2 separate regions of the Homo sapiens genome follow, and region 1 is linked to region 2. The links are contacts of gene promoters, found by promoter capture Hi-C in blood cells and fetal thymus (Javierre and others, 2016). All regions are on one chromosome and are shown on one strand. The core of a region is centred on a gene start or on the middle of the fragment in contact, and the rest is flanking DNA. Distances in the headings are between cores, read along the strand shown. Region 1 holds the start of PTPRM (protein tyrosine phosphatase receptor type M). Region 2 holds the start of ZBTB14 (zinc finger and BTB domain containing 14).

The links. The method cuts DNA at HindIII sites, captures the fragments that hold promoters and counts their contacts. A CHiCAGO score of 5 or more calls a contact.
Region 1: the fragment with the promoter of PTPRM here is called in contact with the fragment with the promoter of ZBTB14 in region 2 in 1 of 17 cell types (erythroblasts); the score reaches 5.6 in erythroblasts.

What each region holds. Positions count from the first base shown.
Region 1 is chr18:7,562,657-7,569,743 of GRCh38, reverse strand. PTPRM (protein tyrosine phosphatase receptor type M) reads right to left here and starts at 2,428. Exons shown (of 33, transcript NM_001105244.2): 1 at 1,853-2,428. The coding sequence starts at 1,925. RefSeq lists a silencer at 2,378-2,747. The HindIII fragment of the contact is 6,488 bases long and covers 1-4,675 here.
Region 2 is chr18:5,290,563-5,297,128 of GRCh38, reverse strand. ZBTB14 (zinc finger and BTB domain containing 14) reads left to right here and starts at 1,403. Exons shown (of 4, transcript NM_001243702.2): 1 at 1,403-1,477; 2 at 3,128-3,157; 3 at 3,802-3,885; 4 at 4,925-6,566. The coding sequence starts at 3,883. The coding sequence ends at 6,271. RefSeq lists enhancers at 195-354, 72-757, 1,446-2,132, 2,133-2,820 and silencers at 565-984, 1,065-2,004. The HindIII fragment of the contact is 2,257 bases long and covers 1-2,257 here.

The sequences.
Region 1 (7,087 bases), core at 1,179-3,678, 2.3 Mb before region 2:
AGGACATGGGTCAGTACAACTGAGGCTGAAATCCTTTTTGGTGATGAGGAACCCATGGTTTAAATAAGCAATATAAATATTTGTTTCCACTCCCTTGCACACAATTTAAAAATCCATCCAAATGATATTTGACACAGCTTAACTTTAAACAAATCCCAAGAAGGGAGTCATGGATGTTAATAAAGAGAAAACCATCACTAGGGCTCTCATACTTGGCTTCTAATACTAATGAGTTACAAGGCTCTCAAATTCTACTCTATTATTCACTAATAAGAACACAGACCAAATTCTGCATCAGTTTTATAATCAGACGACAGTGCATCATTGTGTTAAATCCTCTGGAGCACGTGCAATTACCAGGCAGTTAGGGAAACACAAAACTTGGAGAAAGGATATTTCTGTATTGAAGTTGATGCTTTGGGTTTCAAAACCTACACGTTCCACTCCTTCTCTGAGGCCAACTGTGATCAAGGGTCCTGCAGATCAGCAACACACAAGACACAACTAATGTGCCTGTGAGTCCAGAGCTCCAGCAGCCAATGGTCCTGGACCCCAAGAAAATAAAAAGGTTTCCACGCACCGGAGGACCAAAGGTTTTTACTGCTTAAAATATGCTCTTTACTGTTTATGAAAGTCCTCTTCATTAAATTCTTAAAAAGCCCAACTTACTCATTCAACTCACTTGTTCCCAAACGCAGAGACCTATTTTGCAAAAACCAAGTTTAAGACCAAAGAGCAGGCTTTTTTATTAAAGAAAAAGAAAGCCCACCGCCCCCACTGCATGTGGACCTTAATGAAACTAATCTAATAAACACTAGAAAGAAGGTGTGCAAATGGGCCAGCATTTGCCGTCTATCCACCTGTGTCACCCAGGTAATAAAGGTCATCCTGGTTGTAAACCCCTGTGACAGCGTGCCGGGTTCGCCCCCACGCCGGACCCCCGACTCCGATCCACAGATCCTCTCCGTGAGGGGTTCCTCTGGGCTTAGAACGCCCCCGCGCGCGCGTGCAGGCACACACGCGCACACACTCACACGCTTGCTCGCACACCGCCAGTGCCTCTCCTTCCCACCTGGGACCCCCGGGCAGCCGGGCTGGATGAACAAGTTGCAGCTGGCCGCGGCGCTCCGCTAGGGGGACGAGGGTGGGGAGGGGGAGCCCAGCGGGGCGCAGGGCCGTGGCCAGGGCCTGGGGACCTGCCCGCTTCCCTCCGCGGCCGCCAAGCCCTACCGCTGGGACCGGCGAGGAACTCCCCCCAGCCTCTCCGCAGACGCTGCACGACCGCGGGGACCTCCCGGGGTCGCCAGCCGCGCCGGGCAGGGGGCGACAGGGAGGGCAGGGCACCGGGAGATCGCCGCCGCCGGAGCGGCCGCCAGTTCCCGGCGATCGCTGCGGGCGCAGCCGAACACCAGCGGCCTGGGCCCGGCCGCTGCTCGGGGTCGGCGGGGACCGCGCAGCGCCTACGCCAGGCGGCCCGGCGGCTGCAACTGGGAACTTCAAGCAAAGTTTTCTGCTGTTCCTTTTGCAGCCGGCCAGGGACTCAAGAGTGCAAGCCGCCCAACCTTGAGCACTAGCCCAGGCCGCGGAAGGACGGCGGCCGAGCTGGCAGTCCCGGCTGGGGAGCTCGCCCTCGGGGTCCGTCCGCTCCGCCCGCCCGAGGACTGGGTGCCTGCCAGCCCCACGGCCCCTCGCCCAGCGCCCGGCTCACAGGCAGAAGCGGTGTCCGGCCCGCCGCGCCCCCCGCCCGGCCCCGACGCCAGCCTTAGGGCTCTACCACCAGGGAGCTGTCGGCGTCCCGGGCGTCCCGCGCCGGCCCGCGCGCCTCGGGGGCGGCAGAGGCGGTCCCGCTTACCTGAGAACGTCTCGCCCGCCGCAGTTAGCAAAAGTCCGGCCAAAGTCGCCAGGCAAGTCCCAAGTCCCCTCATGGTGCTGAGTGCGGGCCGGGCCGCTCCCCGGCGGCGGTGGGTGGGCGCGCGAGGGCGGAGGGGGCCGGGAGCTTTGGTTCCGAGGCAGCGAGGAGAGACGGGTAAACAGCAGAGCGCTAAGCCAAGCCCCCAAAGTGCCAACAGTTGCAGAAGTCCGAACTCCAGCGGCTCCAGGGGCGCGGGCACAGGGTCCTGGGTCCTCCTCCCCTGTCCCTGGCCCCACTCGGCGTCTGGCGCCGCTGGCAGAGGGAGCGGAGGGCGAGCCCGCGGAGCCAAAATCTTCCCTCGGTTCCGGTTGCTGAGCTCGCCGCCTCTCCCCTTCCCCTGCCCGGGACCCGGGACCCGAGCTGCCGGCCGTGGCCGTGGCGGTGGCCGTGGCCGTGGCCGCGCGCGTTCCGCCCGCCGCCTCTCCACAGGCAGCCCCAAGCCCAGCCCCGGGCGGCGGCGCGCCGATGACCGAGCCCGCGCCGGCTGCGCGCGGGGCTCTTGCTCCCCGACTGACTGGCGGTGCCCCGCAGGCCGGCTGAAGGGAGCGCTCACGTCACGGCCGCCCGGCGCCGCCGCGGCCCGCTAGAGGGCGTGAGCGCCCGTGCCCCGCCGGCCCGCGCCCGAGCGCCTCCGGGAGCTCGGCTGGGGGCGGCCCCGCGGCCACAGCCACTACCGCCGCCGAAGCGGGCGTCAGCCGCGCGGGGAGGAGCGGCCACCGGGCTCCCCCCGCCCACCTCCTCGCCCCGGCCGCGTCTTCTATTTTGGTAGCTGGCTCTGGGGAGGGTGACTGTGGAAGAGGCTGCGCCGCCGCCAGAAGTTTGTCCCGGGTCACGAGCCGCGAGTAGTTTGTGAGCGCGGCCGGGCGGGACCAGCGGCCTGCGACCCCGCGGGCGCGGCCAGGCGGCTTCGAGCCTGGCGCCGGACGGCGATGTCACCGCACAGGGCCAGCTGCACCCGGAGTCGCCGGGCCTGCGCTGCTCGGCGGCTGCGGGAAAAGCGAGCCAGGAGATCGCTGAGGCTCCGGAGGGCTGCGAGCTTCTCTACGCCGCGGGCGGAGCGAAGTTGGCGGGCGCCGGGAGATGGCGCGGGAGCCGGGAGCGCCGAGCCCCGCGATCGCCAGCCCGCTCCCGGCCGGGCCCGCCGGGTACACGCCGCTGGCCCCGAGCACTGGCGCCCGGGAAGCAGGGCGCGCTTCTGCTGTTCTGCGTCCTCATCATGCCTCGGTGTCCCGTGTGGGCCCGAAGCGAGCCGCAGGCAGTACACGGAAGGCGGTGGTCACACCAAAACCAGGGTTTGGACATAACCCGTGGTTTCTGTATCTGGTGCAAAGTGCTGAGAAACAGGGGAGAAAGAGAAGTGGGGGGTGAATCAAGTAATGTCTTGAAATATTTTAGTTTTACGATTTTGGGTCTGAGTGAATTAAAAAAACCTTACAATGCTTCAGCAAAAAATAATTTTTTTATTTTAATTGTAAATTTTTTTGTAAGTGATCCTTCTATCTTCCAGGGAATAAGCACATTGAGCCAGCACCAACCAGACAGCTGTAAGCTCCTGGCCTAGCTAACTGAACGCAATAGAAGGCTTGGGAAGAGGTTAAATTAGGAACCAAAGTAACTGAGTGACAGGGTTCTAGCAATGATTCTGGCTAGAAGGCAAACCGGTGATACAGAGGCACCCAGGAGCTCTCCTGCACTTTTTCCGCAAGAGGGGTCCTCTGCTTAGTGCTCACTGCTTTCTAGTGCTTATAAACACGTAAAAAAATAAATGGATTCCACACTCATCTTGACCCTGTTCTCCACTGTACACCAGAACCAAGAAAGATACAGCTGTCATCCTCCCAAGGCAAATTTGGGGACTAGAAGACTTGCCTTTAGTGTGGCAACCAACACTCCTCTTACTTCAGGAAGTCCACTTACTAGATACTTACCAGACCTGCTCTTTAGAAGTCTCTATATTAATCATTTGCTTGTTAATATGAGCTTACATTGTCCTGCCACTTCTCCCAACTATGTGCTTATGGAACCTTATCTTTAATTGTGAAATGAACATTGAAATCTCAGAAAGGAAGCAATGTCTTCAAGATCAGCAAGTGAGGATGGTCAAATCTGCAACCTGGGCTTTCCATTTTGATGTACTTGTGTTCTATACTGCAGTTCAAATTTGCTTTAAAAAAAATTAGTAATAGGCTTTCCAATGGAGTTTTTCTGCTAGTGGGAGGACAGAGGTGGAAGCTAGGGAGACAAAAGTTGATCTAATCACTTTGCTTCAGAGTAACTTCTTTAAATTAGGTGAAGTTAATATTAGGGTAGGATTTCATTTGCAAAGTATTTTATTCTTTCAGCAAATATCTACTGAGTCAATACCATATGTCAGGCACTGTGCTAAGTACTGGAGGTTGTCTTAGGCTGGGCTCCCTCAGAAACAGACCTGGAGGTTAGGATTTAACTATAAGTGGTTTTGAATTGGGGAAGTGATCCCAGAAAGCACTATAAGGAAGGTGAGACAGCAAGACAGAGAAGAAAAAAAAAAGCAGACATCGATATGAGATGTGTCAATAAGCAGGTTACCACTATGGGCAAGGGAAACTCAATCCCCCTGCGGGGGGACGATGAGGAGCTGGATGGAAGAGGAAAGGGCCACTCTACGGACCTGCCACTGAGGCATTAGACAGAAATCCCTGCCAGTACTCCAACTGCTGCTGCCACAGGACTCCTCTTGGTAACCTCTACAAACCCTGTCCCTTCTGCCTGTTACTTAAAGCTTAGTGGGAGGGTCTGTAAATTTCTATTACCCCTGTTCTCTATCTTTACACTGTTAAGTTGACTCTACCCTTTGCAGCCTTCCATCCACATTTCAAAGGGTGGTGGGATTTTTGCCAGCAGCTTCTGCCCTCTCAATTCATGACAACTACTGTTAGTTTACTCCCTCTTACAGGTAACTGGTCAGAGCAGCCTTTGAGCCTAAATGGAAGTCCTCTGCTGAAATGAATGGATTGGACTTCCTCTAAGGAAGGGATGCTGTAGGAATCCTCCCAGTGGGACATTTGCTTTGACTTGTTTTTTCAGCAGTAGAGATTTAGTTTTAACCACATTTCACTCCTGACTCACTGAGGACAATAGTGACATTTGCAGAATGGCTGCTCAGAGTTAGGGGTGCTGTCAGGCCAGCCCCTGACATTGGTAGGCTTGGGCAAGAGTACAAATGCATAGCCACTTACCATATGCCTAATATTTCAAAGTTATTAATTAAGCTAGCAAACTACTATGTATATTCCTACCTTGACACATATAACAATAAAATTGAAATATAAAACCTACAGATTTTATATGACAAAAAGCAAAATATCAGCAACTGAATTATGCATATCTGCTAGACATTATACATATCTAGATTTTCTTTGATAGGCTATATGGATAAGTAATATACATGATTCATATATATTTATTCTATAAAATTGATATTTCTCTTTAGTAAAATCACTGTGTTGTTATAATTGAGATTTTCACTTAATTTGTGTTCCATTGACAGCGGTGATTGAAAGCTTTGCTGTTCTGTATGGTAGCACCTAACAGCATTTCAGGTGTTCTGTTCCTCAGTGACACTAGCTACATTTCAAATGCTCAGTAGCTTCATGTGGCTAGAGCTAATGTATTGTACAACATGGAGAGAAAACAAGTCCATCATCATAGAAAGCACTATTGAACAACATTGATCTAAAAGATTCATCTATTCAGGCCCCATGTGGTGGCTCACACCTGTAATCCCAGCGACTCAAGAGGCAGAGGCCAGAGGATCACTTGAGGCCAGGATTTCTAGACCAGCTTGGACAACATGGCAAGATCCTGTCACTACAAAACAGTTTTTTAAATAGTCAAACATGGTGGTTTATCCCTGTAGTCCCACCTACTCAGGAGGCTGAGGCTGGAGGATCATTTGAGCCTAGGAGTTTGAGGTTGCAATGAGCTGTGCACTCTACACTCCGTCTGGGTAAAGAATGAAATCCCAATTCTAAAAAATAAATAAATAAAGGATTAATGTAGTCAAATCATACAAAATGTTTGTACTTACACCACAAATGTAAATTCCTTTTTTTATTTCAGAAAATTAGAATTATTTTTCTATAGTTGTTAAAAGTTTTCTTTCAAATGATTTAAAGTTATCTATTAGAATTAAAATGCAAAATACAAATTATGACAATGAATATAAACACTGAAAAGTTATTTTTTTAAAGCATAAACATTTTATTTAATATTTGGAAATTTAATTACACCTTATTAATGTGTAAATAAAACATAAACTTAGCAATTCTAGCATTCATTGTCCACCTGGTTGCTAACATAAATAATCAGTATTATGTTTCATGTGTTATAACTTCATATCTACCATTTTAACAGTAACATTAATTAGTTAATTTTTCAAAATATTGGCCAATCACCACGTTCAACCGCATGCAAATGCTATACTGCTGTATGACTTCTGCCAGAACCATGAATTGTAACAAAAAGAGAAGCAAGAAAATGAATGTTTGGCATTGCTAGGAAACCCTCATTATTTAAGACTGTATGATATGCTTGCTATCTAAAAGGAAGGTTTTGACAGTTTAATTCATTTGACTTTTCTTTGAATCAAGCGCCTCCACTATACATCATCCACACGTTTAGGAGTGTCCATCTTCCATGTCAGCAGCAGCACACCCTGCAAATCTTCAGGTTGTGGGATGCACTCACCTTTGTTTCAAGGACAAGGGACTATAGGGGAGAAGTGTTTCTCTGGGGCCCGAACGGTGTTGGTTTTGAAAGCAAAAGTTTAGGGTAAAGTTTTATGCAGTCTTTAACACTGAGCACCAGACCTCTACTGACAGAAGTGGCTGTATGTTCCTTAACAAATTTATTTTTATAGGTGTGTGATGCCCAGGGCAGGAGCCCATCCTGCCAGTCGGTGGGCCGAATTGCTGGCTGTACTTGTGCAGTGCTGGGGCCTGGCAATAGCAACTCTGCTCTTGAGATTTGTCCAAACCCCATTAAAGTCAAAATGTAAATATAACAATGAAAACTGATCTGACCATAACCCATCCCTACCTATCCAAAACGTTATGTCGAATTAGGAGGTTAACCCCGTGCGGCAAGTTCCTAAGCTAGCTGAAGTATTTGCCAAGAAGCATGGACAAAATGATC
Region 2 (6,566 bases), core at 154-2,653:
TCTGCTCTAATCTTTAGATATTAAATTACGCGTTTCGGGGAAACTTCGCGTGTGAGGTAAAGCAACATGAGCGACTCTAAGGCGGCGCGGCATTGCTGTCCGGCCTCCTGCATCTCGGTGAGCAGAAAACGCGGGAGCGGGAGGGACTTCCCAGCTCCCGACGCCAGACACAGGCACAGCCGCCGCGTCAGAGGGAAGGCGACGTGGTTCAACAGCAACGGAGCCATTACTGGCGCTGAGCAGGGATGTTAAGGACAGAGCCAAGTTATCAGAGCTCTCCGAATCGAGTCCAGGGTCTGGACTGCCACAGACGGGTCGCCGCCTCCAGCCCCTGGACTTTTCCTTGGAGTGTCCGGGCGCGGACCTACTAGCTCCGAAGCCCTATGGGTGATCCCTTTCTGCTGGGCAACTGGGGTTGCGCTTTACACTACAAATCGAAGACGTCGCTTTTTCCATTTGTTCTGCAAGTGTTTATTGTGCACCGTCCACTCCCCCACAAACTCAATGTGCCGGCGGCAAGAGGCAAGACCGCAGACCCGTGGGCGCGCCTCCCGGTGTCGGCCGGTGTGCGCGGAGGGCGAAAGTGGCCGGGGCGCCCGCTCCGAGACGCGGCAGAGCCCCGCAGCCTCAGCGCCCGGCCTGCGCGCGCCCGGGGGAGGCTCTGGCCCACGCACATGCACACGCACGGGAGCGCTGGCTCCCGCGTCCCCGGCGCTGCGCCGGCGCCGGGCGCGGGCGGAAGCCCACGAACCAGGGCGGGAGGGAGCTTGAGGCGGGGCGGGTGTCCGCGAGCAGCGCTCGTGCTTAAGTTCCCTGGCTCCCGAAGCCCCGCCCTTGCCCCGCCCACTCCTTCTCCCGCGCGCGGGCTCCGCGCGCCCCAAGCCGCGCGCGTGCGCGCGCGTGCGCAGGCCAGGGCCCTCCGGGGGCGGCCCCGTAGTCTCCAACGAAAGCGTCGGCAAGGGCCCGGATTAACCCTTTCTTTGCTCGCCCACTTAGAGACCCGGTCGGGTTCCGTGCCTGCGCAAGCCGGCGGCGCGCCTTCCCCCCAGCCCGCACCGCGCATGCACGGGAAGGGGGGGGCGGTGGGGGTGTTCACGGCCGGCTAGACATTCTGTGCTCGTGCAGGAGGAGGGCTGCTACCATCAGGGACGTGCACGATTTCCCCCACCCCGCCCCCTCCCCAAACTCCAAAAAAAAATCCAAAACACACTGCCACCCACCGTGCCCCCGCGCCCCGAGCCCCTCCGGTCCCGGCCTGCGTTTGCTAGCGAGCGCGGGGAACCCACGGCAGTGTCTGTGCCTGTGCCAGGCTGCAGGTAAGCGCGGGCCAGGGTGCGGAAGGGGCTGGGGCCGTCCGCAAGGCGGGCGCGGGGGCGGCCGGCGGCTGGCGGGGCGGCCCGGAAGACGCGCGTTCTCGCCGAGCTCTGGGGCACCAGCCAGCTCCAGGATGTGCGGCGGCCGCCAGCGGCGCGGCGCGGTGCGAGCGGGGACGGGCGTGGGCCAGGGTTGGGCGTGGGGCCGGGGCGCCCCGGGGGCCGCGCGGGCCGGCGAGCGGGCTCGGGGAGCGGCCAGGCGGCGGCGGCCCCGCGCGCGCGCTCGCAGAGCCTCGGCGGCCGAGTTCATGGCCGCCCCCGCTCGCACCGCCGCAGTGCACCGCGGTGGGGGTGGGGACGGCCCGAACCCAGCGCGGAGCGCGGCCCGCCGGGCGCCGCCCCTCCGAGCCGCGGGCCCCGCCGCGCCGCCTACAGCCGCCGGCGGAGGAGGGGGCCGGGACCCAGCGCACGCACTCCCGGGTGCGCCCGCGGAGCTTGGGTTAGCCGGCCGCGCGCCGCCCCCGCCCCCGGCCGCGGGAGGGCGGGGGAGGGCCCGGCGCGAGCTGGCCGGGGAGTGCGCGGGGCGCGAGCTCCGGGCTCGCGGGCGGAGCGGGGCGCGGCGCGGCGCGGGGCTGCGGAGCCGGCCGCACGCCCGCTCCCGCTCGTCGCGCCGCCGGGGCCGCCGCGGGCCGCAGTCCCTCCCTGCGCGCTCCGAGCCGCGGTCCCAAGCCTGCGCTCGACGTCTGATTATGAAAGGGAAAGTGGCCCTTTCACCACCTGGCTCCCAGGCTGGGAGCTTTTGTCTGGGAAGGAGTGCAAACGGCCTCCTCCACTCCCCACCTCCCAGGCCCAAAGAAATTGAGAGGGAGGACTCGATACGCCTTGAGGGCTTCTTGGGTCTGCGCTTGGCTCCCTGCTTCCTCCCGACTCCGAAGTTGCAAGCTTGCAACAAGGAAGTCGTGCAGCCGCCATTGTCGGGCTGCCCGGGGCAGGGGAGGCGGCTGCAGCTGCTTATGTAAGTTTTTGGCTTTGCGGGAAGCCCGGCTCCCTGCACTGTAACGCGGCTTAGCGCGCCCGCAGTTTGGAGAGCAATTAGGAAGGGGCAGCCTTATTATGAAGGTGGTGTTGGGGCTACGTCTTTTCCTACACCTGCCTACACAGATGCTGGCAACAGCTGTCTTCCAGTTTTGACTCACCTGAACTGAGCAATTGGACATCTCAATGGCAAGGGGGGCGGGGCGGGGAGGAGGCGGCTTTGGACACACATGGTCTCTCTTCCAGGTCTCATACATCTTGAGAGAGAGAGGGGAGAGGGGCGAGTGGCCAAGTACACACTAGCCAAAACAACAACAACACATTGATATGTTGTCATAGCTAGTCTAAGGCCACTCCTCTCTCTGGTCCCATGCACTTTTATCCCACAAGCCCTAGGACGAGTTAGTGACAACAGTAGTAAGTGTCACAGTGTAAGGTTTTTGCTGGGCTGCCTAGCCTCTGGATGATTACAGGCCTGGGTGCTTCTAGGGAATAGAGAGGCAGAAACACGTAGAATGATCAAGTCAGAATCATCTTTTGGAAATGTTGCCTAACCTCAAACTTCAGATGAGACATCCCGCTTCTACGCTGGGTAGCTCGGTGTGTTCACTTTTCTTTAGAAGGAGCTTATTATGGGTTTCAAGGTGTTGGTCTCCAGGTTGGAGTCTTGTTCCATGGTTTTTGTGTAAGACTGTTACAGCCCAGTCCTTTGCTCCTACCACACCAAACAACTTATCTGTGTGGTCACTGTTCAGTAGAGGAAACTTTTTGTTTTTCAGGATATGGGTCTGCAGGATGGAGTTCTTCCGGTAAGAGTTAAAACTCACAAAAAAGCTGAAATTCTTTCACCCTTATTGTAGGGATAGAGGTAAAAACACCTGGATTTATCAAATACAATCTTAAAAACAAACGTGTATGCTATTAATACATCACACAGGTGCAGAAAGAAAAAGCAATCATTGTTCCCTCTCCTCCCATGTTACCTGTTGGGTTTATGTACTTCTATAGCTTTATTTGTAAGGTATATACTTCTATAGGTTTGTATGAGCCGAGAGAAAAATGTAGAGGGCTAACATACCCAGCGGGAAATGGGATAGGTGTAGGGGGCACGGTGCACTTGTTTTTTTCTATATCTGTGTAGCCATCAATCTCTGTACAAATATGGACATGAGCTTAGTGTGTGAGGAGAAATCCCTTAATGGTTCTCCAACCCCTCCTTCCAGTTCCTAGGGCACAGCCCCTTTATGCCCGAGTGCTACAGCCCTTATCTGTTCTAGTCCATATCTGTTCAGAACTGCACTTGATGTACCAGCTACCTACCTGCCACTCTCCCCAACCTGAAAATGCACAAAAGAGGGAACAAGAAAGTTTATTTTTAAAAAATCAATTCTTGGTTTAGGATTTGGGATACAGGAAGATCCTACCTCATTCTTGTTTATCCTTTCCTCTGTAGGTCTGGCGTGCTCCTGATCAGAGTTACTCTGATCTGAAGATTTTGGCGTTCAAGGCATTAAGATAATAGCCTGAGTTGTTCATGGTAACTATAACTTTGGATATTAAATCTTGATGAAAATGACTTGGCATTTGCTTTAAAATATATATACCAATTCTGATTGTGCATGAACACTTCTATTTGTCTGGGGGAAAATATTAGCCGAATAAAAGTAAAACAATGTTTTTAAAAAGGAAACATAGAGAATGCTTTAAGATGACCAGTTTTTTAACATGATGACAGAGATCTTTCATGCCAGTTCCAAATTTTTGCTTATAAAATACTCTCAGCACTTATCAAGTACTTACATCTGGTGTTGATGGCACTTTTATCTGGATGCAGGTAGATTGGCATCTAGAGAGAACAAAGCCACTTCCCAAATGTCATCTCATTCTCTTAAGGTCAGATTAAACCTTGACCTTCATTTAGAAGTGGCCCAAAAGTGCTGTGGAAAATCTAGAACACAACACTCAATGGGATATTTTGGCAGTAATGTTCCTCTCTAGTTCTGCAATAGTAATTTGTTCCTTCTGTCAAGGAGGTATAACATAATTATTTTGCTGAATCCTCCATAGAGTAGATGGAATAAGAGTAGGTGCAACAGAGAGGACTAGAGGATTGTTCCCTTGAACCTGTTTCTTAAAACTTGAGTTTGAGTTATTTGATTATCTCTAGTCAGGAAGCACTGGTTTTGCAGCCAGATTGTCTGCATTTAAGTCCCAGCTCTTCACTAAATAGCTATAGAATATTGGGCAGATTTCTAACTTTGTCTCTAAAATAAGGATAGTGATACGTACTCATGAGGTTACCTGAATATTAAATTAATTAAAACATGTAAAGCACATAGAACAATGCCTGGGATATAACTAGGCAAATACTTAGTAAATTGAAGATGAACAGGAGTAACAATATGGAGATCCTTGAGTTGGGATCAGTCTTTTCTACCCATATTCAAAGACCACTCTTAACATTGACTTTCTGAAATTGTTAGGTTCCATAGATTGACCAGGAAATGAAAATGTGACTGTGTTCTCTATATGGAAAAGTACTATTTATAATTACTAAACTTTTTTTTTTTTTGTAGGAGTTTTTCATCAGTATGTCTGAAACCATTAAATATAATGACGATGATCATAAAACTCTGTTTCTGAAAACACTAAATGAACAACGCCTGGAAGGAGAATTTTGTGATATTGCTATTGTGGTTGAGGATGTGAAATTCAGAGCACACAGATGTGTTCTTGCTGCCTGCAGCACTTACTTTAAAAAGCTTTTCAAGAAGCTTGAGGTTGATAGTTCTTCGGTCATAGAAATAGATTTTCTTCGTTCTGATATATTTGAAGAGGTCCTGAACTACATGTACACAGCAAAGATTTCCGTGAAAAAAGAAGATGTTAACTTAATGATGTCATCGGGTCAGATTCTTGGTATCCGATTTTTGGATAAACTGTGTTCTCAGAAGCGTGATGTGTCCAGTCCCGATGAAAACAATGGTCAGTCCAAAAGTAAGTATTGCCTTAAAATAAATCGCCCCATTGGAGATGCTGCTGACACCCAGGATGATGATGTAGAGGAAATCGGGGATCAGGATGACAGTCCTTCTGATGACACAGTAGAAGGCACACCCCCGAGTCAGGAGGACGGCAAGTCGCCCACCACAACGCTCAGGGTTCAGGAAGCGATCCTGAAAGAGCTGGGGAGTGAGGAAGTTCGGAAGGTCAATTGCTACGGCCAGGAAGTAGAATCCATGGAGACCCCAGAATCAAAAGACTTGGGGTCCCAGACCCCTCAAGCCTTAACATTTAATGATGGGATGAGTGAAGTGAAAGATGAACAGACACCAGGCTGGACAACAGCCGCCAGTGACATGAAGTTTGAGTATTTGCTTTATGGTCACCATCGGGAGCAGATTGCCTGCCAGGCGTGTGGGAAGACGTTTTCTGATGAAGGCAGATTGAGGAAGCATGAGAAACTCCACACGGCGGACAGGCCATTTGTTTGTGAAATGTGCACAAAAGGTTTCACCACACAGGCCCACCTGAAAGAACACCTAAAAATCCACACAGGATATAAGCCCTATAGCTGTGAGGTGTGTGGAAAATCATTTATCCGTGCCCCAGACTTAAAGAAGCATGAGAGAGTTCACAGTAATGAAAGACCGTTTGCGTGCCACATGTGTGACAAAGCCTTCAAACACAAGTCTCACCTCAAGGATCATGAAAGAAGACACAGAGGGGAAAAGCCTTTTGTGTGTGGCTCCTGCACCAAGGCATTTGCCAAGGCATCTGATCTGAAAAGGCACGAGAACAATATGCACAGTGAAAGGAAGCAGGTTACCCCCAGTGCCATCCAGAGCGAGACAGAACAGTTGCAGGCGGCAGCGATGGCTGCGGAAGCAGAACAGCAGCTGGAGACGATAGCCTGTAGCTAGAGGCGGTGGGACAGGGACACTTTGCCTGGAAAGTGGAGACTGAGATGACGTGGATCATAATGAGTGAATGCCAGTTACAATATTTTTGTGGAAACGTATGGAACATTGTACTCACTGGACTTAAGGCAGTGCTTGGTTAGCTATTTTTAAGACTTTTCAAGGAAATGGTGTTCCTCAGTTCTGACCAAACCGTTTCACTGTCTTGTCTGGTGTCTAGTATTAATGTTGCCCAGTAAGCACCTCTCTCCCTTTTTTTTTTTTATTATTTTAATTTGAGAACTCCTGTGTCCAGTTT